Linked DNA regions of Homo sapiens: region 1 is linked to region 2. The links are contacts of gene promoters, found by promoter capture Hi-C in blood cells and fetal thymus (Javierre and others, 2016). All regions are on one chromosome and are shown on one strand. The core of a region is centred on a gene start or on the middle of the fragment in contact, and the rest is flanking DNA. Distances in the headings are between cores, read along the strand shown. Region 1 has its middle 26 kb from the start of TMEM45A. Region 2 holds the start of ADGRG7 (adhesion G protein-coupled receptor G7).

What was found. Contacts are between HindIII fragments. The CHiCAGO score rates a contact against its expected background, and 5 or more counts as called.
Region 1: a fragment that was not itself captured here is called in contact with the fragment with the promoter of ADGRG7 in region 2 in 1 of 17 cell types (endothelial precursors); the score reaches 5.9 in endothelial precursors.

Annotation. Positions count from the first base shown.
Region 1 is chr3:100,462,847-100,470,029 of GRCh38, forward strand. No RefSeq gene overlaps it. Among named protein-coding and RNA genes, the nearest start is that of TMEM45A, 26 kb to the right of the region's middle. RefSeq lists enhancers at 3,139-3,448, 3,178-3,678. The HindIII fragment of the contact is 1,305 bases long and covers 2,619-3,923 here.
Region 2 is chr3:100,607,036-100,613,795 of GRCh38, forward strand. ADGRG7 (adhesion G protein-coupled receptor G7) reads left to right here and starts at 2,566. Exons shown (of 16, transcript NM_032787.3): 1 at 2,566-2,936. The coding sequence starts at 2,822. The HindIII fragment of the contact is 7,171 bases long and covers 1-3,734 here.

The DNA of each region.
Region 1 (7,183 bases), core at 2,021-4,520, 140 kb before region 2:
AACAAGCAGGACCCTAAAACTTGAATTAATTCTGCCTATTGTAGGCCAAACACTGTCATAGATGACTCTCTCACAATGAAAAACTGTATTTGGAGTTGATATTTTCCCTCCTAAAATGGAAACTTTTTTTGCTTATAAAAGTAATAGCTGACACACTTTCAAGTAATGCAGAAAACAGTATGACAGCCTCCCAGAAAAGCCAAGTGTTGTTATGACCTTAATACAGCTCATTATTACTGTCAAGACATTCTGGTTACTCTACTCTAGGGGGCAGACTTGAACCAGCATTTGGACAGGTAATGCTGGACGCAAGCCTCAGTGTTTGGCCAAAGACAAAATCACTATCGTTACGTTTTTCTTTTCTTTCTTTCTTTCTTTTTTTTTTTTTTAGAGTCTGTCATCCAGCCTGGAGTACAGTGGTGTGATCATAGCTCACTGCAGCCTTGAGCTCCTGGGCTCAAATGATCCTCCCCACTCAGCCTCCTAAAGGGCTGGGATTACAGGTGTAAGCATCAAATCTCTTAAAAGCTTCTTCACTATCATGAGAAAAACATGGGGGAAACTGCCCCCATGATCAAATCACCTCCCACCAGTTCCCTCCCTCAACACGTGGGGATTACAATTCGAGATGAGATTTGAGTGGGGATTCAGAGCCAAACCATGTCAGATGGTAAACAAAAATCAAAGAAAAATATAGCATAATGTCATGAAGAATCAAAAACAGTTAGGAAATAGAGATAACGGGAATGCTTTTTAAGAGTGAGTTTCCAAAAAAGCCTGTCTGATGAGGTGGTATTTGAGCTGAGGTATGAATGAAATGAGGGAAAAGGGTCTCAGGCAGCAGCGCAGCAGTGTAAAGGCACTAAGGTAAGAGCTTGCTTGGCTTCTTTTAAAAATAGCAACATATTCCTGGAAAGGAGTGCATGACAGGTGTGCAATGGAAAACGAAGCTGGAAAATGCAAAGGGTGGATAATCTGTTACCTAGGTGGTTGTTATTCTAAGTGTCATGGGAAGCTATTGGAAGGTTTTGAGTGAATCACATGGTGTGACAATTTCAGGGAGGGATACATCACAGAGGCAATATTGCTATGCCACTTCAGACATATTAGCATGCTGCTTTCCCAAAGTTCCGTCATTAGTCATTGTTAGCTCTGTGGCTAGAAGACAAAGAAGAGTTTCTTGAAGTGGGAAAAGAAATTATGGTACTCTCCTTCTAAGTTGAGAATATCCTCTTGGCAAACAGCATGGTGCATGAATAGGTTTGTTGAATGAGTGAAAGAAATAATGAATGAAACAACAGTGAAGGCATTTTTTTTTTTGAGACAAAGTCTCACTCTGTCATCTAGGCTGAAGTGCAGTGGTGCGATCTCCTCACTGCAACTTCTGTTTCCCGGGTTCAAGTGATTCTCCTGCCTCAGCCACCCTAATAGCTGGGATTACAGGCATGCCCCAACATGCCTGACTAAGTTTTCTATTTTTGGTAGAGATGGGGTTTTGCCATGTTGGCCAGGCTGGTCTCGAACTCCTGGCCTCAAGTGATCAGCCCAGCTTGTCCTCCCAAAATGCTGGGATTACAGGTGTGAGCCACCATGCCCAGCCAGCAAAGCCATTTCTTAAGTATTATAAACATCTTGAAACAGTTTCCTCTCTGCTTTGCTAATTCATGGATATTTACTAAGGGCTGCATGTACTGCAGCGTAATAGGTGGGGCACACCAAGATGAGTGAGACACAGTCCTTGCCTTCAAGGAACTTCAATTTTTGTTGGAAAAATAGACATATACACAAAACAGAATGCTTATATTGAGATTTTGGCTGAGGCATCAAGATACACAGCTGTCCTTCACTATCCATAGGGGATTGATTCCAGGACCCCCTGTGGATACCAAAATCCATGGATGCTCAAGTTTCCTATATAAAATGGTGTAGCATTGGCATATAACCTATGCATATCGTTCTGTATACAGTTGACTTTTGAACAATGTTGGCTTAAACTGTGCAGGTCCACTTATAAGCAGATGTTTTCAACCAAACACAGATGGAAAATACATTATTGAGGAATGTCAAACCAGTGTATATGGAGCACCAACTCTTCTTATACGTGGGTTCCAAAGGGCTGACTTCAAGACCTGGAGTATGCATGGCTTTTGGTGTACTTGGGAGTCCTGGAACAAATCCCCCACATATAACAAGGAATAATAACTGTACTTTTAATCATTTCTAGGTTGTTTATAATACCTAATACAATGTGAATGCTATATAACTAGTTGTTATACTGTATTATTTAGGGGATAATAAAAAGAAAAACAAATTTGTGGATGTTCAGGGCAGACACAACCATTTATCTTTTCTCAAATATTTTTTCATGGTTGGTTGAATCCCTGGATGTGGAACCCACAGATACAGAGGGCTGACTGTAACAGATGCTATGTACCAAAATTAGGAGTTTTGCAAAATTGATAAAATACCTAAATGTAAACCTGAAACTATAAATTTCCTAAAAGAGAACAAAGGGAAAAAGTTTTTGGACACTGGCAGTGGCAGTAATTTTTTGGATATCATACCAAAAGCTCACTATAAAAGCAAAAATAAATAAATGGGACTATATCAAACTAAAAAGCTTCTGCATAGCAAAGGAAACAACAAAATGAAATGGCAACCTACAGATTGGGAAGAAATATTTGCAAACTATATATGTATAAGGGGGTTTAAGCTGCCATATGAAGAAGCCCGTGGGGAAGGAATTGAGGGTGACCTCTTGCCAGTAGTCATCAAGGAAATGCCCTCATTCTGAAAACCTGCAAAGAACTGAATCCTGCTAACAGCCATGTGAACTTGGAAATGGATCCTTCTTTAATCGAGCTTCACATGACTGACAACTTGATTGCAGCCTTGTTGATAAATACCTAGGCAGGTAGGGGTGGGTCCCCGGTGAAATTCAACCTTCAAGTCAGAAACAGTCCCAGGTAAATCCTTGAACCAGATTGAGAACCCGCCCTCCTGTTTGGCGTGCTTTCCTCTGATTGATACTCAGCCTTCAACTATTTTACATATACCTACCCTTTCCTAATTGGTTTCCTACACTATCATGCCCATTTTTAAGTGGTGTCTTTGACTTTTTTGCATACTCACAAGCTAATCAGCACGCACTCCCTATTCTGAGCCCATAAAAAGCCCTGGGCTCAGCCATATTGGAAACTCTCTTACCTTCAGGCAGGGGAACTACCCCTGTGTAACTTCCCCACTAAAAGCTGTTTCATCACTCAGTAAAACTTCCTGCCTTGCTCACTCTTCCAGTGTCCATGTATCTACTTCTTCCTGATTGTGAGACAAGAACCCAGACCAAGCTGAACCTTAGTTCAGAGCAAAAAATTCTGCATCATTTTGGAGGCTTGTCTGGCATTTGTCAGAAGGTTGAGTAAAATGTGGACCCAACAATCTCTTTCACTTTTGTTTCTGAGCTTTCTTATCCTCAGACTTTTTCGGAAGGCAGGGGATACTGCAACCTGCCCCCTGCCCCCCTGTTGCTCTCAGGGGTCAGGAATGTTGGCCTTTGTCCAACCCAGTCTTTTCTATGGCATTTTCCTTCTTTTTTCAGGACTGTAATGGCACCTATCTTTTAGTGGGCATGTTCCACCCCCACCCCAATGGCCACAGGCATGCACACAAGACAGATTGGCAAGCTCCCTGCCCTGCTCCCCTCCTGGCTGGGGCACACAGCACAAGGGTCCCTCATGGCTGGCTGGCCAGCATTTCTCACTTGCCGTCCCCTCCTGCTAGGTGCCCAAGGAGTCTTTCCTCCCCTTGCTGAGCCAAGAAGGAGGAGACAGCAATTAAAAGTTTCTTTTCCTGTTGAAGAAACCCACTTGCATAAGAATAAATAAGAGGTTTCTACCCAAGGCATCTTCCCAGCCCTGAACTTAAGCTTTTTTTTCTTCCTTTTCTCCACCCTGTCAGCAGTTAACACAGCCCTGTAGATATAGGGAGTTTTCTATGCAAGAGTTTTTTTTCCTCCTTTTGGAAGGCATCTTGTTAGGCCACAGGACACCCTTTTTCGCTCCCTTGTTTGAAGAGGACCCAGCTCCTCAGCTTTACCTTAGCATTTGGCTTATGGTAAGGAGGCAGCAGAGGAGCAGTCCCGCTGGCTGCTGGCTGCAGTCTGGCGAGGGACACCTGGGACTTGATGAGTCCATGTACCCACTGAGGCAGTTCTTTTGTCCCAAACTCAATTCCAAGCTTAGAGTTGAAGACTCAGGATAGAAAATTGAATATGAGGGGTCCAGAGGCAGACAACAATGGAAGTTAAAATGCAAAGCATAAGTGACCATGGCTAATTCCTGCCAATCAAACCAAGCCTCCTGTTTCATGGATAGAGGTCATGCCTGTATCCATGGCATAAATGAGGCCTAGGGAACTCAAAGGTTATGACAACAGGCAGGGACAGGGCATATGTGGGTGAGTTCAAATATTCCCACCCCCTTGGCCCTTCTGTTACTATGAGTGAAAGCCACATTGGCACCCATGGGTGGCACCTTGTCAAGGTCGCTGGGACTCAGATACAAGGACATAAGAAAGAAAAGAGATGCCTATTTTTTCTCTCCCTCATGTACCCTGGGTATTCACTGGGAAGTAAAAGGAATTGGGGATGGCTTATCCACTCTTCCCAGCTGGGTAACAATTCATCTTCCCAAAATGGGGTCAGTAGCACTTGCTCTGTTTTAGTCCATGCACCCACTGAGGCAGTTCTTTTGTCTAAAGAACCATTCATCTTTAGTTCGTACCCCCCTTGAATGCATCCTGAGTCCTGGGGGGGCATCTTGGAAAAAAAGCCTTCTTTTTCCTTTTTCCTCCTCTGTCCTCTCTTTGTGGATGGGTAATTGCATCCCCATACTATAGGACACTCTCCTCAGATGCATCCTCTAAACTAGGAAAAATTAATTTACCAAACCTTAAACTGCTTGGCTTAGAATTGAGCTCAGGGGAAGGGAACCCAGAAGCCTGACATGCCAGCAAAAGGGTAAAAGTTTTTTTTTTACCCAGTCAGACTTTTGGCCTTGTTAGGCCAAAGTCTTTTGGCCTCACTCTTGCTGTGCAAACCGATAGAAAAAATGGTGAGGATAACTGCTTATATTCTCCATAAAGTTTTGATTAATGAAAAATGATTTATGAGGCTTGTCTTAAGCTATAGCCAATCTGGTGTGCTTTGTGTGTTTTTCTGTATGGTTCTGTCAGAAAGAGGGGTGCCTTAGGATAGAATGTTGGCCTAGGACCCTATATGCCTGCTGTTCAAGTTAGCCCAACAAACTGGTCAGTATCAAACTTTGCTGCAGGCCACCATATTGTTTTATGTCCTTGGGAGCTTGAAATGTAACCACGTGGCAGTACTTAACTTTAGTCTCTGCCATTTTACAATGGTGGCCTGTGTTCAATCCTGGCTTGGAGAATGAGTACTTTCAAGTAAACAGCTGTGTGACTTCTACCATTTGCTGATTCTCTTCCCATCCATGAACAACTTCTAGCTTCCATTCTCTGAGTTACCTTTAGAGGTTCTAGATTTTGTAAAAACTGCTTACCACCTTTTTGAATATATACCTCATACATTCATAGTTAAGTCATAACCTTAATTGAAGCTTGTTGGTTTCACCTGTGAGGTTACTTTTGGTAAAGTTCAAAAGCCAGAAATGTTGGCGGGTTCACATGGCTAAGGTTGGGTAACAAGGGATTTAAAAGGATTTTCTTAAAGAATGCTCAGCTTAATTAAAAGTGGATATCAAAGCTATAGGTATATTTAAGAGACCTTTATGTTTTTCTGGAAAAGGTTTTTTTCTCAGTTGACTGAATTACTTTTCTCCATTTTGTCTTGCCACTCTTAATGCACACATGAGAGGCCGTAGATAACTTCTCGGCACATGGGACTCTTTGGGAAAAACAGAGAGAGTGCCACTGACCCCATTTTGGGAAGAAACCTCTGTTTTCCTCATAGAACCCCAGGAATTGAAAGTGGATAGATCCCTCTCAAAATCTATTTTTTTCTTCCAGCTATGCCTGTTTATTGGTCCCTAGAAACTGCATGCTTTCCTAGCCTTGTGTATTAGTTGGTTTTCACACTGCTGATAAAGACATACCCAAGACTGGGAAAATTATAAAGAAAAAGACTTTTAAGGACTTCTAGTTCCACCTGGCTGGGAAGGCCTCACAATCATGGTGGAAGGTGAAAGGCATTTCTTACGTGGTGGTGGCAAGAGAGAGAGCTTGTACAGAGAAACTCCCATTTTAAAAACCATCAGATCTCATGAGACTAATTCACTGTCATGAGAACAGTCCAGGAAAGACCCATCCCCATGATTCAATCATCTCCCACCGGGTCCCTCACACGACACATGAGAATTATGGGAGCTACAAGATGAGATTTGGGTGGGGACACAGGTCCAAACTATGTTATTCTGGCCCCTTCCAAATCTCGTATTTTCACATTTCAAAACCAATCATACCTTCCCAACAGTCCCCCAAAGTCTCAACTCATTTCAGCATTAACTCAAAAGTCCACAGTCCAACATCTCCTCTGAGACAAGGCAAGTCCCTTCCAACAATGAGCCCGTAAAATCAGAAGCAAGTTAATTACTTTTTAGATACAATATGGGTACAGGCATTGGGTAACTACAACCATTCCAAATAGGAGAAGTTGGCCAATACAAAGGGCTACAGGACCCATGCAAGTCTGAAATCCAGCAGGGCAGTCAGATCTTAAAACTCCAGAATGACCTCCTTTGACTCCATGTCTCATGTCCAGGTCACGCTGATGCAAGAGGAGGGTTTCCATGGTTTTGGGCAGCTCTGCCCTTGTGGATTTTCAGGGTACAGCTTCCCTCCCAATTGCTTTCACAGGCTGGTGTTGAGTGTCTGCAGCTTTTCCAGGCACACAGTGCAAGCTGTCAGTGAATCTACCATTCAGGGGTCTGGACTGGTGGCTGTTTTCTCACAGCTCCACTAGGTGGTTCCCCAACAGGGACTCTGTGTAGGGGCTCTGACCCCATGTTTCCCATCCTCACTGCCCTAGTAGAGGTTCTCCATGAGAGCCCCACCCCAGCAGCAAGCTTCTGCCTGGGCATCCAGGCATTTCCATACATCTTTTGAAATCTAGGCAGAGGTTCCCAAATCTTAATTTTTGACTTCCATGCACTCA
Region 2 (6,760 bases), core at 1,316-3,815:
ACTTGAGACCCAGGATCCCTTCCTTCAGTCACACTGTTCAACTAAGACCATTCTGCAGATGACCACACAGGGCAGTGTTTCTAAAGCATGTGTTGAAGAACCCTGTCTCTGAGAGATCCTTCTTGAGAAGAGGATTCTGAGTTCAAATAACATTGAGAACATACTTGCATACATGTCTTCTCTAGCAGTTCACAATGGACATGAACATTGTGAATGCTCTAAGAAATGCTAGAGTGGAGAAAACTGTTTAACTTTGTGTTACCTGGCTTCATCCAAAGGTACTTAACCATAAAGCTCCTGTGTAGAATAATACCAGTTTCAGTCTCATTTCCTCATTCATGCAAAGGGCAAACACATTATGTTACCTGGGGCTTTTACACAGAGTGAATGAGATAAACATGTGTAAAGTATAAAGCACCATCCTTGGTATACACTACACATATGATAGGTGTTAATTCCTTTTCTTAGATTTATTTATTATTTATTGAAAACCATTGTTTTATTATTGAAAAAGTTATATATATTTATTTATAATAATAGAAAGAATACACAAGGCTAAAACTTCAAACTATAAAAGGGATATAAAATTTTAAAACTCTCTCCTACCTCAGATTCCTCAGATTCCCAAGAGGAACTTTTTCATGTACCTTTCCAGACATTTTCTGTGCATGTGTATGCAGACATATCAGAAACAGATTTTTAAAGATCTATTCCCAGTAAATGAGGTAATGGGTTTGCATTCATTTGTGTTGTACTTCTGCAGCAGTACTTCTAAGTTCTTCCATTTTGTGCTACCTCAATTTGTTTTTCTGAAATTCTTGGGAGGGGTAAAGTTAGGGCCTTATGTTTATAGCAAAACATTTATAAAGTGAATGTCACAGAGAATTGGAAACCCCCATAGTGTTTGGGGGTTAACTAAAGGTCAGTTTAAGTGTAAAGCCTTTTTTGGTAAAGCCTTGCTGAATACTTCCTGAAGGAATTAATGGGCTGGTATGTAGGTAGTAACGGGCTAGTACATAGGTTTCCAATTTATGATGGTTTTTTTCACTTCTGATTTTTCAACTTCACCATGGTGCAAAAGCAATATGCATTCAGTAGAAACCATGTTTGGGGTACCCATACAACCATTCTGTTTTTCACTTTCACTACAGTATTCAATATATCACATGGGATATTCGCCACTTTATTATAAAATAGGCTTTGTGATAGATGATTTTGCCCAATTTTATGCTATTGTATGTGTTTTGGGCACATTTAAGGTAGGCTAGCCTAAGCAAGGATGTTCAGCAGGTTAGGTGTATATTTAATGCGTTTTGACTTAAGATATTTTTTAACTTAAGGTGGATTTATTGGGATGTAATCTTATTGTAAGTCAAGGAGCACCTGCACTCCATAATAATTAAATATGATGATCTTTTATTTTAGCAGTTATGACTTGCCTTATAGGTGGCTATATCTAGGTATCTCACCCCTGAGAAATTATGAGTTCTTTGAGGACCCTGTTCATGTCTTGTACCAATTCAAACACATTAAAGGCATTTAATATGGATTTGATGAAGCAAGGGAGTGTCCAGAGAAGACCAGAGCATCTGTTCTCTCTACCAAAACAAAACTGTGATTGAGGAGGTGAATGTTCATGTATCTGTTCTTCCCTGTAAGGGTAGAGGGTAGGGAAGGAGAACATGGGAGCCTGGGCAGGAGAGGGTCAGAGCTGCATCTATAGAGAGACACCAGTTTGTAGTTACTCTGATGATGTATTAGTTTCCCAGGGCTGCTCTAATAAAGTACCACAAACTGGGTGGCTTAAACAACATAAATTTGTTGTCTTACAGTTTGGGTGGCTAGAAGTCAAGTCAAGGTGTCAGCAGAGCCAGTTCCTTCTGAGGACTCTCTCTTGTAGATGGCCGTCTTCTCTCTCTGTCTCTTCAGATCATCTTTCTGTATTCATGTCTGTGTTCAGATTTCTTCTTCTTATGAGGACACCAGCCATATTGATTAGTGACCACCCTAACAAACTCGTTTTAACTCGATCACCTCTGCAGTAACCACATCTCCATGTGAGGCCTCATTCTGAGGTACCGAAGGTTAGGACTCCAACATATGAATGTTGGAGGGGACACAATTCAGCCCATAGCAGGTGGGTTATCATGCTGGGCTTTAGTGCTTGTCAAGACCCAGCCTGTGCCAGTATGCACACTCACCAACTGCATCTGTCAAAATGTAGGCTCCTTAAAGAAATGCAAGCGCTAAAAACCATGTGTGGTGATTGCCATTTATCCTCTTATTGACAACCTAGTTCATTTCCCCGAGAGAGTGTTTTGTGTGGTCTGAAGCACCTGCCAGTCTATCTCTGCTGTACCCTCCCAAGACAAAAATACAGGAAGCCGAGCCATAGGTGACTACTGGCAACCACTGCCTTTGTGATTTCCTCTTTGGTTTCTTCTATTTTGTTCCCTTCCTTCACTCTGTGGCTTGTCTGGGCATTCACTCTTTGACCCTTGTGGCTAGTCCCTCCCCTTCTTCTTTATTGCCCTGAGTTATCTCCCTATTCCCATAACTCTAATCACTTTTTTCATGTTCTCCTTGAGTGAAGGATGAGGAAATTGAAAGCAGAGTATGCACCTTTTATTAGGAGATTCAAACTGCATCCTACTGGATTAGCCTCAAAAGTCCTAAAATACAAAGACATCCATCTGACAGATCACTGAGGGGAGGACTTGTTTTTCTGTTTTAGAATAGTTTCCGATTAAACTTTTTAGCTCAAGAAGAAAAGAAGCTAGTTATTTCTCACCCAGGAGTGGATTTGTGGTTTGGCTTCACCATGGCTTCCTGCCGTGCCTGGAACCTTAGGGTGCTGGTGGCTGTCGTGTGTGGACTACTGACTGGCATCATTTTGGGACTGGGCATCTGGAGGATTGTGATCAGGATCCAAAGAGGTAATGTTGTCCTGCTATGTTTAACTCAGAGTAAGAGAAGGTATGGGACCTCTGTCCCTGCCACCTGGTGCACAAGTACTGGGAGGTACCTTGTCCAGTCTGAGGCATTCCACCAAGGTGCCATTTATGGGATATAAAAGACCAAGTCAGTTAAGCCTAGCAGATGGTTGAATAGAAATGAATAGGTGTGGGTGTGAGTGGGCAGGGGGAAGAGTGACATAATTGAATTGGCCTCTTTATGCTCTTTTAACTCCAGACTGAATTGGTAGAAGAGTAATAATTAAAACGATTAGTAACACACATTTAGGTCTGTTTGGCTAAATTCAGGAAAGGGTAAATCGTTATGAACAAGGACACACACATGCATCAAACACATACACACACATGCATAACACACATACAATCAAACATACACAGAATGGAATTTCATTTTAAGAGAGAAGTTAAAGAAACTCATCACTAAGGTTTAAGTGAAATGATCTCATGGTTTGCATACAAATTTCCCACTTTCCAGATGTAGGAAACTAATCAAAAATTTAAAAACCATTTTTAAATGACTTTCCTGATTATTCAACGAACATTTGTTAGTCCCCCGCTGTGTGCCAGAGCTGGCCTGGAAAAGGAGGACGTGGGAGGGGAAGTAGTGAGTAAAACAATGATGTTAAAGAAAAGCCCGCTGGAACTCAGAACGCGAAATTTCAATGATCCTAATGCTGGATCCCTTGGGCTGTAGAGCTTCTCCGTAAAGGAATTCAATGTTGGATGGGCTACATACTCCCTTTCGTGAAAATCAGAGAAAGCTTCTAATGAAACAATAAATAAGGGTAAATAATGCCGATCGGGAAAGGCAGCAGGAGAGGCAGTATGCCCTCTGAGCAGGTAACTGGGGAGGACAGAAGGTTGGGGAGCTAGCAGGAGCATGGAGCATGGCTGCAAAGATCCAGTGTTGAAGACCAACAGAGGGATCTGACATACTGGCTGCTGATGGAGTGGTAGCTGGGGATGGATTTGTCCTCCCCCTACCCCACCGCCCTAACCAGTATTTAGAGAATACTGTATCGATAGTATTTAGAGAACTAGAATGAGAAAATTTACCAGAACAAAAATAGTAAAATTTAAACTTGGAGCAAATGTGTTTTTGTTTGTTTAAGGTTGTAAAATAGTTTCATTCAGGTTAAAAAATTATGAACTATGGATTTTACCCCATTAAGGCTGCCAAATTTATAAGACCTCATTTAAAGGACATACTTCACAAAGTTTTGTTTGTTTGTTTTTCCTTCCTTCCTTCCTTCCTTCCTTCCTTCCTTCCTTCCTTCCTTCCTTCCTTCCTTTCTTCTTTCCTTCCTTCCTTCCTTCCTCCCTTCCTTCCCCCCGTTCCTTTTTTCCTTTATGTAAGCGACATCTATTTTTAAAGGGAAATTTATGATGACTTATAAAGGACACAGTTATAGCAAAACCATTAAAAACAAGGACCAAAGTACAAAAACAACATGAGAAAGAGTGCAGGATGGGGGACAGAAAACCTGAAAGTTCAAGGCTTGGGGGGAGTTGCTGAAAATAAATACAAAATATATTCCCGAACTTTCTGAGTACTAAGATCCAAAAGGAGGCATAATAAGTAATAAAGATCCCATGTCTAACAATAGAGGCATACCAGCTCCTCAAAAAGAAAAACTTTTCTCTTGTTCTGAGAAGCATATTTCAATTGGCTGTTTATATAAGGGTCATCTCTTAGCTTTGGGGTAAACCCGATGGAAAAGGAGAGGGTTCTCACTGTCATTTAAAGAAAAAGAGTGAAAGACTGGCACCATTTGCTGTTACTATTTTGCCTTGTACATTTTATTGAGAGTGCATTTGAGTTGGTAAATTCTGTTTCTTTTCACTTCACTCCACTCCACTCTACTCCACTTCTTTTTATCCTATCCCATCCCATCCTATGTAATTGTTGAATATTCTTGCTTGGGTTCCTTTATTCAGGTATAGACATAAATTGTTTTTACATTTTTTTAAGGGGGAGAGAGGTCACACATATCTCTGAGAAACTGATGAAAGCTATAAATGTCTTAGTAGGGAAAATATATATAAACACACAAAATTTTGCATAAATTAATTTTATTGCATTCAAAATTTATTTTGAAGAATCACTCCAGGCTGGAGTAACATATATATAAATTAAAAGAACATATAAATTAAGTCTCTTTCACTTTTATTTTTCTTGGAAAAGTAATGGCCTCATTGTGAAAAATAAAAAAAAATTTCAAATTCTGCTCTGAGTAAATTTCAGTAAGAAGTTACTCTGATTTGGCAGTAAACACTGATGTACAACAATATTTATGCTATTTATGTATTTAATTATTATAATACCTATAGTTTTAAAAATTCTTACTATGTTCTAGGTACTATGCTAAAAACTTAGAGAAAATCTCAGTTTTGCCAGAACTCCAGCCTTTTCACATTGGGCATTCTTCATAGAAAAACACAAGAAGCAGTATAGCTTTTGGGCCCCTTCACTCTTGATGATGAAAGTAAAATGAAAACATAATTAAGCTTTATTATATTTCTTCCCATTGGCATTTTCCAACTTGTGCTAAGCCTGATATAATCATAGACAGATGTCCACAATCATAATGGTAGAAAATGTTTTCTTTAACTCCTCCCAAAGGGAGAGTATCTGAACCTCAAAACACATGAGTAGTGCCTTACTTGACCATATTCTACACCTCTTCTGGTTCGTAGAATTTCCTGCTCTTTGCCACCAGGACTGTTTTTTTCTTTATCCCCGCTTATCTCCAGATATTCTAACCTTCATTCTCTATCACAGGATACACCTGTTCTTCAGTCCTGCAAGAGATTTCAGGACGTTGAAATATTCCCAAACCCCAAGGTCTGACTTCATAGCATTGATAATTTTTGTTGATGTTGTTTTATTTTTGTTTTGAGAAGGAGTCTCATTCTGTCTCCAGGCTGGACTGTGGTGGCATGATCTCGGCTCACTGCAACCTCTGCCTCCTGAGTTCAAGCGATTCTCCTGCCTCAGCCTCCCGAGTAGCTGGGACTACAGGCACTCACCACCACGCCTGGCTATTTTGTGTATTTTTAGTAGAGATGTGGTTTCACCATGCTGACCAAGCTGGTCTTGAACTCCTGACCTTAAGTGATCTGCCCGCCTCGGCCTCCCAAAGTGCTGGGATTACAGGCGTGAGCCACCGCACCTGGCCTGATAATTCTTACACTGTGGAAAATACAGGTTGTTATGAAAGGTCAATGAGAGTTTATTGTTTGTCAAAAAATAATCTGACCATAGATACTTGGCTTTAATTTCACTCATTTACAGTACTTCTTTCAGAGGCAAACTCAATAAATCTAACTCATGTGACTGTTCCTGGAGTATATTTGCATTTGGGGGTTTAAAAAATAAAAAAAGTCCAGAGTAGAGTTTTCTGGAGAGAGAAAGTTGGTTTTAGGCAGCTATAGTGTTCTTTTGTCTTAATCCTGGTGTTGTAAATCTTTCTTCTGCTCCTTAACCAGTCTTCCTTCTTGCTTCCTCACATAACCACCCCCTAAATTAAAAAAAAAAAAAGTCTATTAAAGGGAAGGGATTTTTAAAATAAATTTATTCCAGTTTGGCTATGTAATTGGCTGAGGGGCATGGATTATTTTAATATCAGAATCAGTGATGTTTAAAGTGTTGATTCCATTTTAAAAGTTACTTTCTTGAACTAAGGGGCTAGAATCTTGGCTTAGTGGATTATTCCTGGATTTCAAGGTATTAGATATTTTTACTCGAAATTCTGGATACTTGCTGTTCTTTGATGACACAAACG